Regions from separate parts of the Homo sapiens genome. Here region 1 is linked to region 2. The links are contacts of gene promoters, found by promoter capture Hi-C in human tissues and cell types (Jung and others, 2019). All regions are on one chromosome and are shown on one strand. Each heading gives the region's core, a stretch centred on a gene start or on the middle of the fragment in contact. The rest is flanking DNA. Distances are from core to core; before and after follow the strand shown. Region 1 holds the start of LOC124900512 (fumarylacetoacetate hydrolase domain-containing protein 2B-like). Region 2 holds the start of ASTL (astacin like metalloendopeptidase).

Region 1 (5,019 bases), core at 802-3,301, 130 kb after region 2:
GCTCTTACAACAAAGGCTGTTTGTATTGTACAGCCTTCTATGCCCAAAAATGTTGAGGCAGCTGAGCCCCAGACTCTTGGTCCTCGCCTGGAGATTCAATCTGCCTTGTTCAGTGAAAGACTCATTAGACTTAGGTCACCACTGTTGTGGCCCACCAGTTTGACTAGAAAACCGAGGGTTTTGACTTCTCTGCCCTGCTATCTTACACAAGCACCAACTGTGCCACTGTCAAAAGGCTGTTCGAGCCAAAGTGCACACACTCAGACACTCCACATGCTAACATAACAGTAACTGCTGCCGCTGAATGCCAACTATTAAGTGCTCTACCTACAATGTCCGATTTAATTCTTTTTTTTTTTTTTTGAGATGGAGTCTCGCTCTGTCGCCCAGGCTGGAATGCAGTGGCACGATCTTGGCTCACTGCAAGCTCTGCTTCCCGGGTTCACGCCATTCTCCTGCCTCAGCCTCCCCAGCAGCTGAGACTACAGGTGCACGCCGCCACGCCCAGCTAATTTTTGTATTTTTAGTAGAGACGGTGTTTCACTGTGTTAGCCAGGACGGTCTCGATCTCCTGACCTTGTGATCCGCCTGCCTCGGCCTCCCAAATTGTTGGTATTACAGGCGTGAGCCACCGCGCCAGGCCTGATTTAATTCTTGACGCTTGTGGAAGGTAGGTACTGTTAGTCCCATTTTACAGATGAAACAGTTAAGGCTTAAAGCGGTTAAGGGATTTGCCCAAGGTTACACAGTCTTAAAGCTAGGAAGGGAAGGAGCTGGGATGTGAATCCAAGTCCAGGTGACATTGAAGTCCTTGGTTCAGAAGCTTGTAATGCAAGCAAGAAAATCTAGCTTCAGCCCCATCTTCCTACCAAGGACATTTTAACCCAGAATGTTGTGGTGAGAAGTGGGGACCTTCCATAGGAAATCCTCCAAAGGCCCTAAAGATTGTAGTGAGAAGTAGGGACCTCCCACAGGAGATCCTGCAGAGGCCCTGCTAACAGCCATGCGTGGGGAAACTACAGGCGCCCTCTGGCTGTTGCCTCAGGGACGAGGCTGGTTACCAGCTCTCCAAGAGAACCCCAGGCCCCATTGACTGTTCCCTTCCCACATGACTCACACATGCAGGTTCATTCCAACCTTACAGCAATCCCCTCAGGTAAAGCGCCCTCACTTTACAGAAGAGGACACTGAGACTCAAAGGGATGACGTCAGGTGCCCAAGGTACTAGTCAGAAAGTGGCCCTGGGGCTTCTGCAACAACCACTATGTCACACAGTCCGAGCTCAATCCAACTCTGCAAGAGTCCATAAGCAAAGGGGCGGCGACGTGAGGTGGAAACAGTAGCCTGAAACGTGGGTGTGCACGTCGGATCCCATCCCACCGTCCACTCGCCTGGAAACCCCCAGTTTCCCCATATGCCCAGCTTCGTCCCCTGCAATTAGTGAGGGCTCACATGGGTCCGCCCCATCCGTGTGGTCGGAAACGGCCGGGAACCTGGTTCTAGTTCTGCCCTCCGCGGGAGACCTGCGCCAGGGACACCCTTCTGGCCTAACCCAGCCAGGCCTGGTCTACCTGGCGGCGGCGGCGGCGGCAGCCGGTCCTCCTGCGCTGAGTTAGGGCTCGCGGGGCGGGAGGTCAAGGGCAGCGGGCGCCTGAGCACTGGCACCAGTCACCGCATCCAGCCGGGGAACTACAGCAGCGGCGAAGTCACTGCCGCTCGGTGCGCACTCCAGCGAGAAGCGGGCGCGTCCGGTGACGTCACAGGCAACCACCCCTAGCAGGGCACCAATCCCGGAGGGGCGGGCCCAGTGCGGGGCGGGCGGCGCCGGGGGCTCTTCAGGCTCAGGGCATAGGCAGGCGCCGGCCGCGTTTTCTGGAGACGGTCGCTCTCGGAGGGACCCTGCAATTGCCCGAGACCGAGAGTGGGCGCTGCCTGAAAGTTTGTCCCTGGGCGCTTCGCTGGCCTCATCCGGTCTCGGCCCTGTTCTGGGCCTGGCGCCTTTCCCATTGTTGGGGAAAGTGGTCTAGGAGACCAAGGCAGCGTGCTGGGTGGGAGAGAATGATTTGTGGCTTCTGATTCTGACATATGTCGTTGAGGAGGGGAGGGATGAGTGACCCTGTTTTACTTATGGAGAACCTGGGGCCAGAGCTGTTTTCCCAGGGTGACACAGGCGGTGAGTAGTGGAGCTGGCATTCCTGACCCCAAAGCTCAGCGTTTCCCAGCCACTCCCAGCAGCCAGGCCTTCACCTGCACTGCTGGGCGCAGGTGGGGAAGTGGGGAAACGGTGCTCCATCCCCTGCAGAGGGCAGGCGTGCAGGGAGCGGAGGCTGAACTCCACAGACAGCTACTGCTCAGCTCTTCGGCTGCCGGCTTTGAAGAGTATGAGGGGCTCTGGGCAAGAGGCCCCCACATTACTCAAGGACCAGATCATCAAGAGCTTTACTTGTCCCACGAAGGAGTCTGGACCTTGTTTAAGTGCACAGGAGACCGCTGGAAGGTCCTCAGTGGCGTGCCATGGCCCGACTTCTATTTGAGAAGTTTTTCTCTGGCCACCTGTCTAAGGAAAGGTATCTGGGTGGGTGGTGCGGGTGAGAACAATGATGGTGCGGTGCTTGGCGGAGAAGGTGAGTGTTCATAGATGTTCAGGAGGAAGAACTGACAGCTCTGGATGACAGGAGGTGGAAGTGAGAAGGAAGCAGGTACAAGGCCGACTCCTGGGTCTCTAGCCTGGTAGGTGCAGGGCTGATCATGGAGACAGGGCTTCTGGAGGAGCAGCGGGTCTGGGGAGATGACAGTGAGCTCCAATTTGCATGGGACATCCAAAGGGCATTGAACAGTGGGCAGCTGGAGACGTGGGTCTGGAGCTTGGGACTTCAGTCTAGCTTACAGAAGGTCACCACCGATATAGAAATGGAACCTATGGCCGGGTGCAGTGGCTCACACCTGTAATCCCAGCACTTTGGGAGGCCAAGGCGGGCGGATCACGAGGTCAGGAGATCGAGACCATCCTGGCCAACATTATGAAACGCCGTCTCCACTAAAAATACAAAAAATTAGCCGGGCATGTTGGCGGGCGCCTGTAGTCCCAGCTATTCGGGAGGCTGAGGCAGGAGAATGACCTGAACCCGGGAGGCGGAGCTTGCAGTGAGCCCGGATCACACCACTGGGGGACAGAGCAAGACTCCGTCTCAAAAAAAAAAAAAAAAAAAAAAAGAGCCTATGGGGGTGGCTGTGATCAGGGGGATGTGCTGAGGAGAACCTGGCACAGGTGTTTCATTAAGCCATAGCTCCCAAAGACTTTCTGAAAAGCTAAGTTACAGCCTGAAAGAAAAGATCTTCAGAGGCTATATTTGATAAAAGACTTGTATCCAGAATATAGAAAGAGCACTTAAAATCAATAGATAAAATCAAACAATTCAATTTTTTAAATGGACAAAATATTTGAACAGACACTTCACCAAATAAGATATACAGACAGAAAATTAAGACATGAAAAGATGCTCAACATCATTAATCATTAAGGATATGCAAATTGCAAGCACAATGTGACACCGTCTCACACCTACTAGAATGGACAAAGAAGACTGATTATACCAAGTATTCACAAGAATGTGGAGGACCTGGGATTCTTGTACGCTGCTTATGGGATTATAAAATAGTATCACTACAATTGAAAATCATTTGGCAGTGTATGAAGAGTTAAACATACTCCTACCATATGACCTAGCCATTTCAATCCTAACTATTGACAGTATTGAGTTGTACCTTAGCCCTTTGCTCCTAGAAATAGTGAAGGTTAAGGAATCCTTCCACTCCTTTGTTCCAGAAAACACCCTACTGGAAAGAACCAGTGGCTTTCCATATAGCTTGAATAAGAATCCTGAATGTCTCCTCCTGACCAGACCATACACAGACCCTCTAAATTCCCATTCTTGACATCATAAATGATTAGCTGGACTGCTTGTCCCCACAGATCAATAAGAACAAAATGCCTGTAACCAAACCTTGGTTCAGATTCTCTCCTTCTCCAAGCCCCTGACCTTTGGCCCACCCGCAGCTTGTGCCAACCCACCGCCTTCCTGAGGGTCCCTCCTGAGAACAGGCTGTCTGCAGGGTAAGACCTGCTCGATCGTGACACTCTTGCTCAGCTCACTTTCCCATAACAGTTCTTTCTAGCCATGTTTACGCCTCCCTATACAAGGTCAGCCCTTTGCCTAACCTCTGAGACACTTGAGGATCACATCGTCAGACTGTCTCCTTATTGTAATAGTCCCCCCCCAACCCCCACAACAATCCTTTTGAATAAATTCTCTTTTTATGGAATCCAGATTTATATTTTTGTTTGATAGTAATTACATGAGAAATAAGAAAAATATGCTCATGCAAAGATGTATTCAGAAGTGTTCACAGCAGGCTTTTTGTAAAATCCCCAAACTGGAAACCACCCAATTTTCCATTAACAGGTGAATGTGTAAACACTCTGTGTATAGCCACACTAGGGAATACTACTCAGCAATAAAAAGGGACAAATTATTGATACAACATAGAAATATATCAAGATAATTATTTGGAGTGAAAAAGGGTAGATTAAAAATGAGTACATATTGGATGATTTCATTTATATGGAGTGTCCTTGAGGGATATCTTCAAAGACCCCTAGCAGATGCCTGAAACTGCAGATAGTACCAAACCCTACATCTGCCACGTCTTTTCCTATACATAGATGCCAGTGAACAAATTTAATCCAGATGAAGTTAATCTGGTGCTACACGGTTGCTGTCAATCAGAATACGTTTCTGTTGACATCTTCCACTCACAAATCTAATGCTTTTTCTACCCTAACTAAGCGCTTCTCACACACTGTAGCCATAAGTTTTGCATTTTGAGGTGTGACAGCAAAACTGGCACAAATTTCTTTTTCATTCTTCACAATTTCATGGATAGAAGATTCATTCTTTCTGTAGATCTTAGCAACCTCATTATGTGATTTTTTTTTTTTCCTGGCAGCTTGAGAGGGGC
Region 2 (5,811 bases), core at 736-3,235:
GTCTTTTTGTGACTGGCTTGTTTCGCTCAGCAAAATATCCTCAGACCAACTGCATGTCCTAATAAAGACTCTGTTTCTCTCCCCAAGCAGGGTGATTATTTCTTATCATTATTTTAATTCTTTTGTTTTTTGAGACAGAGTCTCACTCTGTTGCCCAGGCTGGAGTGCAGTGGCACAATCTTGGCTCACTGCAACCTCTGCCTCCTGAGTTCAAGGGATTTCTGGCTAATTTTTGTATTTTTAGTAGAGATGGGGTTTCACCGTGTTGGCTAGGCTGGTCTCGAACTCCTGACCTCAAGTAATCTGCCTGCCTTGGCCTCCCAAAATGCTGGGATTACAGGCATGAGCCACTGCGCCCGGTCTACTTTATTTTTTTTTACTGAACATTCATCTTTTTTTTTGAGATGGAGTCTCACTCTGTCCCCCGGGCTAGAGTGCAGTGGCGCGATTTTGGCTCATTGCAAACTCCACCTCTGGGTTCAAGTGATTCACCTGCCTCAGCCTCCCGAGTAGGTGGGATTACAGGTGCCCGCCACCGTGCCCAGCTAATTTTTGTATTCTTTTAGTAGAGATGGGGTTTCACCATGGTGGCCAGTCTGGTCTTGAATTCCTGACCTCGTGATCCACCTGCCTTGGCCTCCCAAAGTGCTGGGATTATAGGCGTGAGCCACCGCGCCCTCCTGAACACTCATCTTAAGTGGTCAGCCTTGTGCATTTGTTTTTTGATGGGTCCTATTCTTTATTTTACTTATTTTTTCTAGGTTTACTGAGGCATAATCGACAAATAAAAGTAGTATATGTTTAAGTATACAACGTGATGTTTTGACATATGCATACCTTGTGAAATGATGACCACAACAAGCTAACTAGCATATCCATGGTGTGTATCCTGACATCTGTCAATACCCTGCCCTGGCAGCAGGGCGTCTGCCTCCATCATGGTCTCCCTGTGATTCTGATTCCTATCTTTGGAGAAGCTCTGGATTCCAGGCACAGTGGGAATGCTGAAAGGTCCTTGTGGACAATAGCTATTCTTCTTGGCTCTGTCGCTTCCCTTCACTGGGTGCAGGTGACTGTGGGGGTGTCCCCAAATGCTGCCCAGCGCTGACATGCTCCGCCTCTGGGATTTCAATCCAGGTGGGGCCCTGAGTGACCTGGCTCTGGGGCTCAGGGGTATGGAGGAGGGGGGATATAGGTAAGGAGTTTAAATTTCCAAATCTGTGAAATGGGAATAAATACTGACTGATCATGCCAGCTGCTGTGGGATTAGGGGGTGGACTCCCTGCGAGGCTCTGGGCATCTGGGGGTTCCACCTTTCCCACATGGCAGGCTTTCTAGGGTGCTGCACACTGTTCAGTTTGTGAAATTTCCTGGAGCCCTGTGCTTGTGATAGTGAACTTTTCTATATGTGTACTAAAATAAAAGCTTGTGAAAGTGCAGTGACCTTTTCCTCCTTCCGGAGATACACGGGGGGCGCCCCAGGGTCTCAGGCAGCTTTCCCCATGTCTAAGCACAGGCCGGGGTAGGAAAGGGGGTCTCCCTCGCTGGAGGAATAGGTCTATACCTGGGCTGGGGCCTCAGCTAGGCCTGGAGCAACTTTCTGCGATGTTTCTCTGCCCCCTGGAGGCAGGAAGGAACCTCAGAAGAGCCACACTCCCAAGCGGGCCCCTCCTGTCTTTCACCTGCTACAGCCAGGAAGGGGACTGGGCTGGGGTGGGAACCACAGGTAGGCATCGGAGGGGCTGCCAGTAGACCTGGTTTGGGTGGCGCTGCCGGTAGAGCTGGTTGGGGCGGGGCTGCAGGTGGAGCTGGTTGGGGCGGGGCTGCAGGTGGAGGTGGTTGGGGCGGGGCTGCAGGTGGAGATGGTTGGGGCGGGGCTGCAGGTGGAGGTGGTTGGGGCGGGGCTGCAGGTGGAGGCGGTTGAGGGGAGCAAGGTGGGAGGTGGAGCAGCTGCTATTTAAGAGGGGGTGGTGGTGCCGGTTCTGCAATTAGGTTACTGTGTCTTGCTGGGGCTTGGTCTTGTTTGCTGAAGGGGCAGCAGGGCTCTACCATGGAGGGTGTAGGGGGTCTCTGGCCTTGGGTGCTGGGTCTGCTCTCCTTGCCAGGTAAGCTGGCTGCCTGTCCCTCCTGCTGCTGGCTCCAGCCTGGAGAAAGCTGGGGAGAGGCTAGAAGGTTGTGGCTGGAGCCTGCAGGGATTGTAGCTGAGCTCAGTAGCTCAGAGCACAGAGCTCTCCAGGGTTATTCTAGAAGTCAGCTCCTGGGGGGCCAAGGGGAGGCCTCCTGAAGGCCCTGGAAGCAGAGGGCCTGCCTGGCAGAAGATAAGTGTTGTGCCCCAGGCCTACTTGTCTTGGGGTGGGGGTAGGCTGTAAGTCCCCACTCCAGCCTGGTCAGGCAGGGAGTCATCCAGGCTGAGCCCATTGTCCAAGAGCCTGGGCTGAGAGAGAGTCATAAGGTGGGGTCTGAGGCTGGCCCTGCCCGTCACGGGCGTCAGAACCCGAGGTCTGTCCTGCCTCCTTCCTTCCTGCCCCTCCTCTACCTCATAGGTGGGGCACATGGTCCCTTTTGGTCCCCCTAAGGGAGCTCCTTCCCTGAGGTCATCTAGACCTTGGCACCAGTTGGGGTTGAGCAGGGAGGCTGGGAAGGCTCCTTGGCTTTGTGCTGGAGCCTACTCTTCCTAGGGACTGAGTCTTACCGTCTGATCCCCCACACCCACCCCATGTCCTGCTGTCTGGTCTCACCGGTGGGTGCTCCAGGCATCTGTGTATGCCCCTGTCTGTCTGGACCAGGTGTGATCCTAGGAGCGCCCCTGGCCTCCAGCTGCGCAGGAGCCTGTGGTACCAGCTTCCCAGATGGCCTCACCCCTGAGGGAACCCAGGCCTCCGGGGACAAGGACATTCCTGCAATTAACCAAGGTGAGGGCACTACATCTTCTCACGGCCTGGAGGGGCACGACGTTATGTAGTGTGAAAACCACACCGAACACTCAGAAATGCAGAGCCTGGGAGGAAATGGACCAGCTTACTCTGGGCTCTAAGTGGTTTTTAAGAGATGGAGTGGTGTTGCTATATTGCCCCGGCTGGTCTTGAACTCCTGGCCTTAAGTGATCTTCCTGCCTCTGCCTCCCGAGCAGCTGGGACTACAGGTGTGAATGGGTGGAAATTCTATGGGCAATTGCTTAAGTCTACTCTTTCTTTTTGTATCTTTCTTAGTGGATTGTTACTTTTATAAGAAAAACCAAGCTCTTAAAGGGCCTGGGCGTGGAGCTAAGCGGTTAGTCGCAGTCTGAGATTGTCAGCCACCCTGTGCAGGACTGTCTGCAGGTGTGATTAAGAAGTCTGAAGCTCAGCTGGGTGCGGTGGCTCTCGCCTGTAGTCCCAGCACTTTGGGAGGCTGAGGCGGGCAGATCATGAGGTCAGGAGATCGAGACCATCCTGGCTAACACAGTGAAACCCCGTCCCCACCAAAAATACAAAAATTAGCCGGGCGTGGTGGCGGGCGCCTGTAGTCCCAGCTACTCAGGAGGCTGAGGCAGGAGAATGGCATGAACCTGGGAGGCGGAGCTTGCAGTGAGCTGAGATTGCGCCACTGCACTCCAGCCTGGGCGACAGAGCATCTCACAAAAAACAAAAAACAAAAGTCAGGCTCAGGGCCTTGCTGTCTGGGGATGTCAGCTGAGGAATGAGGGTGTATAAATAGCCTGAACAAAGCCAGTTGAAATGGAGACTGGAGTTCAGATGTTGGAGCAATGAGGGCTGAAGCACTCAGGGTTGAAGCAATCGGGCTGAACAGGGGACAACCTTGCCCTAAGGGTGGGTGAGATCCTACCAGATGTGGTAGCCACTGTGTGATCTGCCCCCTTCTTCCTCTGTGAGCTGACTTGGGAGCCCAGCGCCAGCTGAGCCTTGAGCCCCAGGCACCATCCCACCCCTGGATCACCGTGAGTGGTCTGCAGGTAACCAGAACCAATGGAGAAAACTCCCAAATGCTGGTGACCCCAACAACTATCCTATCACCTACGGTGAGGCTGTCTCATAAGGGCTGCCCGTGCCTTACCCAGTGCTTTCCTGGGAAGCACCTGCCCATCTCCAGCCACTGTGAATATGGCTAATGCTGCACAGCTGTCTGCCTCCCAAAACTGGCCCTTGGCCAGAAGGAGCTGCCTCAGCCAGAGATGCCCGGGGGCTACTCCCTTGTCTGCCCAAGGTGGCCTACTGTGACTTCTAAGGGACAGGAGTCTGGCTCCTGCCTAAAGGTGGTACAAGTCAGCGGTGTCATTTGTGGTCTGGAGCGCCCATGGGATCTGGCTGAGGCTGTGCCTGGGTTCTTCCCTGCCTTCTCTCCTGCTTCCCTCACTCCCCCTGTGAGTCACTTGTGGGAGACCCGGCTCAGGGAGAGATGAGAAGCAGAGGGACTAAGAGGGGAGAGGGGCTTGCGAGAGCCGGTATTTGCCTGCCTCTGATGGTGGAACAAATTTGTGGAACAAAATTGCCACCTCAAGGGGCCTGAATATAACAGATGGGTGGGGAATAGATGGGGGATGAGGTGGGCAGGAGACCCCAGGGCCTGTTCTGAGGAGTGTGGCTCAGGCTGGAAGAAGCCACTGCTTCCTGACAGCAGGGACCCGGGCTTGGGACTGGATTGCGTGGGTCATGGGCTGTGTTTGAGCAGGGGAAGGCTGCAGTCCAGCCGAGAAGCCTTGCACACTCAGGGACTGTGTGACTTCCCTGAGGCCACGCAGGCTCAGTGCTCAGGGAACCTCTAGCTCCACAGTCAGGAGAGGGACAGACCCCAAGCCTCAGTCTCCTTTGTCTTTGTCCTCCAGCCCCCTCACACCTGCAGACAGTCCGCACAGGGTGGCTGACATTCTCAAACATCAACTAATGACTTAACTAAACACCCAGGCTCGGAGAGCCGATGACCTATACTTTTATCAGGCTATTTAAGAACTTATAAAAGTAACAATCCACTAGGAAAGACACAAGAATAGACTTAAGTAAGTAGGGATTTGCTTGGCCTGTCCCACGAGTCAGTGTTCTGGGGGACATGGGCCAACACGTCCTTCTTCCTTTCCCAGGGCTCATCCTGGAAGAAACCCCAGAGAGCAGCTTCCTCATCGAGGGGGACATCATCCGGCCGGTGAGTGCACACACTGACGTGTGTGGGTGCGGATAAGCCCACAGTTGGCGACAGGTCCTCTGAGCCCACCCTGGATGCCATGGGGCCTGATGTGTGAGGGACATACATAGCTTGGTAGATGCCTCTTTTTGTCAAGGTCAGAGCGACTGTTCTGTTAGGAAATAGGAATAAGCCAGCCTGAATGCTAAGGAAGGCTGGTATCTGAAGTGCTGGCACAGTCAGCCTGAGAGGGCTTCCTGAAGGAGGAGGTTTGAACACTTGACCCAGCTTGGTACCCTGCCCAGGGGAGGTGCTCAGCACTCGGGAGGTGCTCAGATAAAGGAAGAGATGAGCAAGGGTTGGCAGAGTGGCCAGTGGCAGATAAAGGGCCTGGTGGCAGTGGCGACCTAGGGATGGTGGAACAAGGAGTGATGTTGAGCCTGACCATCTTGGCTGTGGTCGAGGGGCCGCATCTGAAGGGAGAAGGTTGCTGGGGATTGGGGCGCCTTGCTAACAGAAAAGGGAACACTGTGCCCAGGATGGCAGCCATGTGTTTCAGGCAACTGCGAATGGCAGAAGGCTCCTGAATAGGACAGTGACCCAGGGGAAGGCAAGACTGTCCTGTTGGAGGCTGCCACTGACGGCACAGCCTCTGGCTGGGCAGGAGAGCCAGAGGCTGGCCCAAGGCTGCCCAGG

What was found. The method cuts DNA at HindIII sites, captures the fragments that hold promoters and counts their contacts. A contact is called where the count stands out against the background at its distance.
Region 1: a fragment that was not itself captured here is called in contact with the fragment with the promoter of ASTL in region 2 in 1 of the 25 tissues and cell types used here (hippocampus).

The regions. Positions count from the first base shown.
Region 1 is chr2:96,007,285-96,012,303 of GRCh38, reverse strand. It overlaps LOC124900512 (fumarylacetoacetate hydrolase domain-containing protein 2B-like), which reads right to left and starts at 1,560. Exons shown (of 4, transcript XM_047446740.1): 1 at 1-1,560. It also overlaps the pseudogene FAHD2CP. RefSeq lists a silencer at 1,812-1,891 and an enhancer at 1,842-2,673. The HindIII fragment of the contact is 3,783 bases long and covers 160-3,942 here.
Region 2 is chr2:96,134,676-96,140,486 of GRCh38, reverse strand. It overlaps ASTL (astacin like metalloendopeptidase), which reads left to right and starts at 1,985. Exons shown (of 9, transcript NM_001002036.4): 1 at 1,985-2,105; 2 at 2,787-2,912; 3 at 5,075-5,136. The coding sequence starts at 2,051. RefSeq lists a silencer at 1,081-1,170 and enhancers at 2,061-2,130, 4,471-4,520, 5,372-5,811. The HindIII fragment of the contact is 6,053 bases long and covers 1-3,903 here.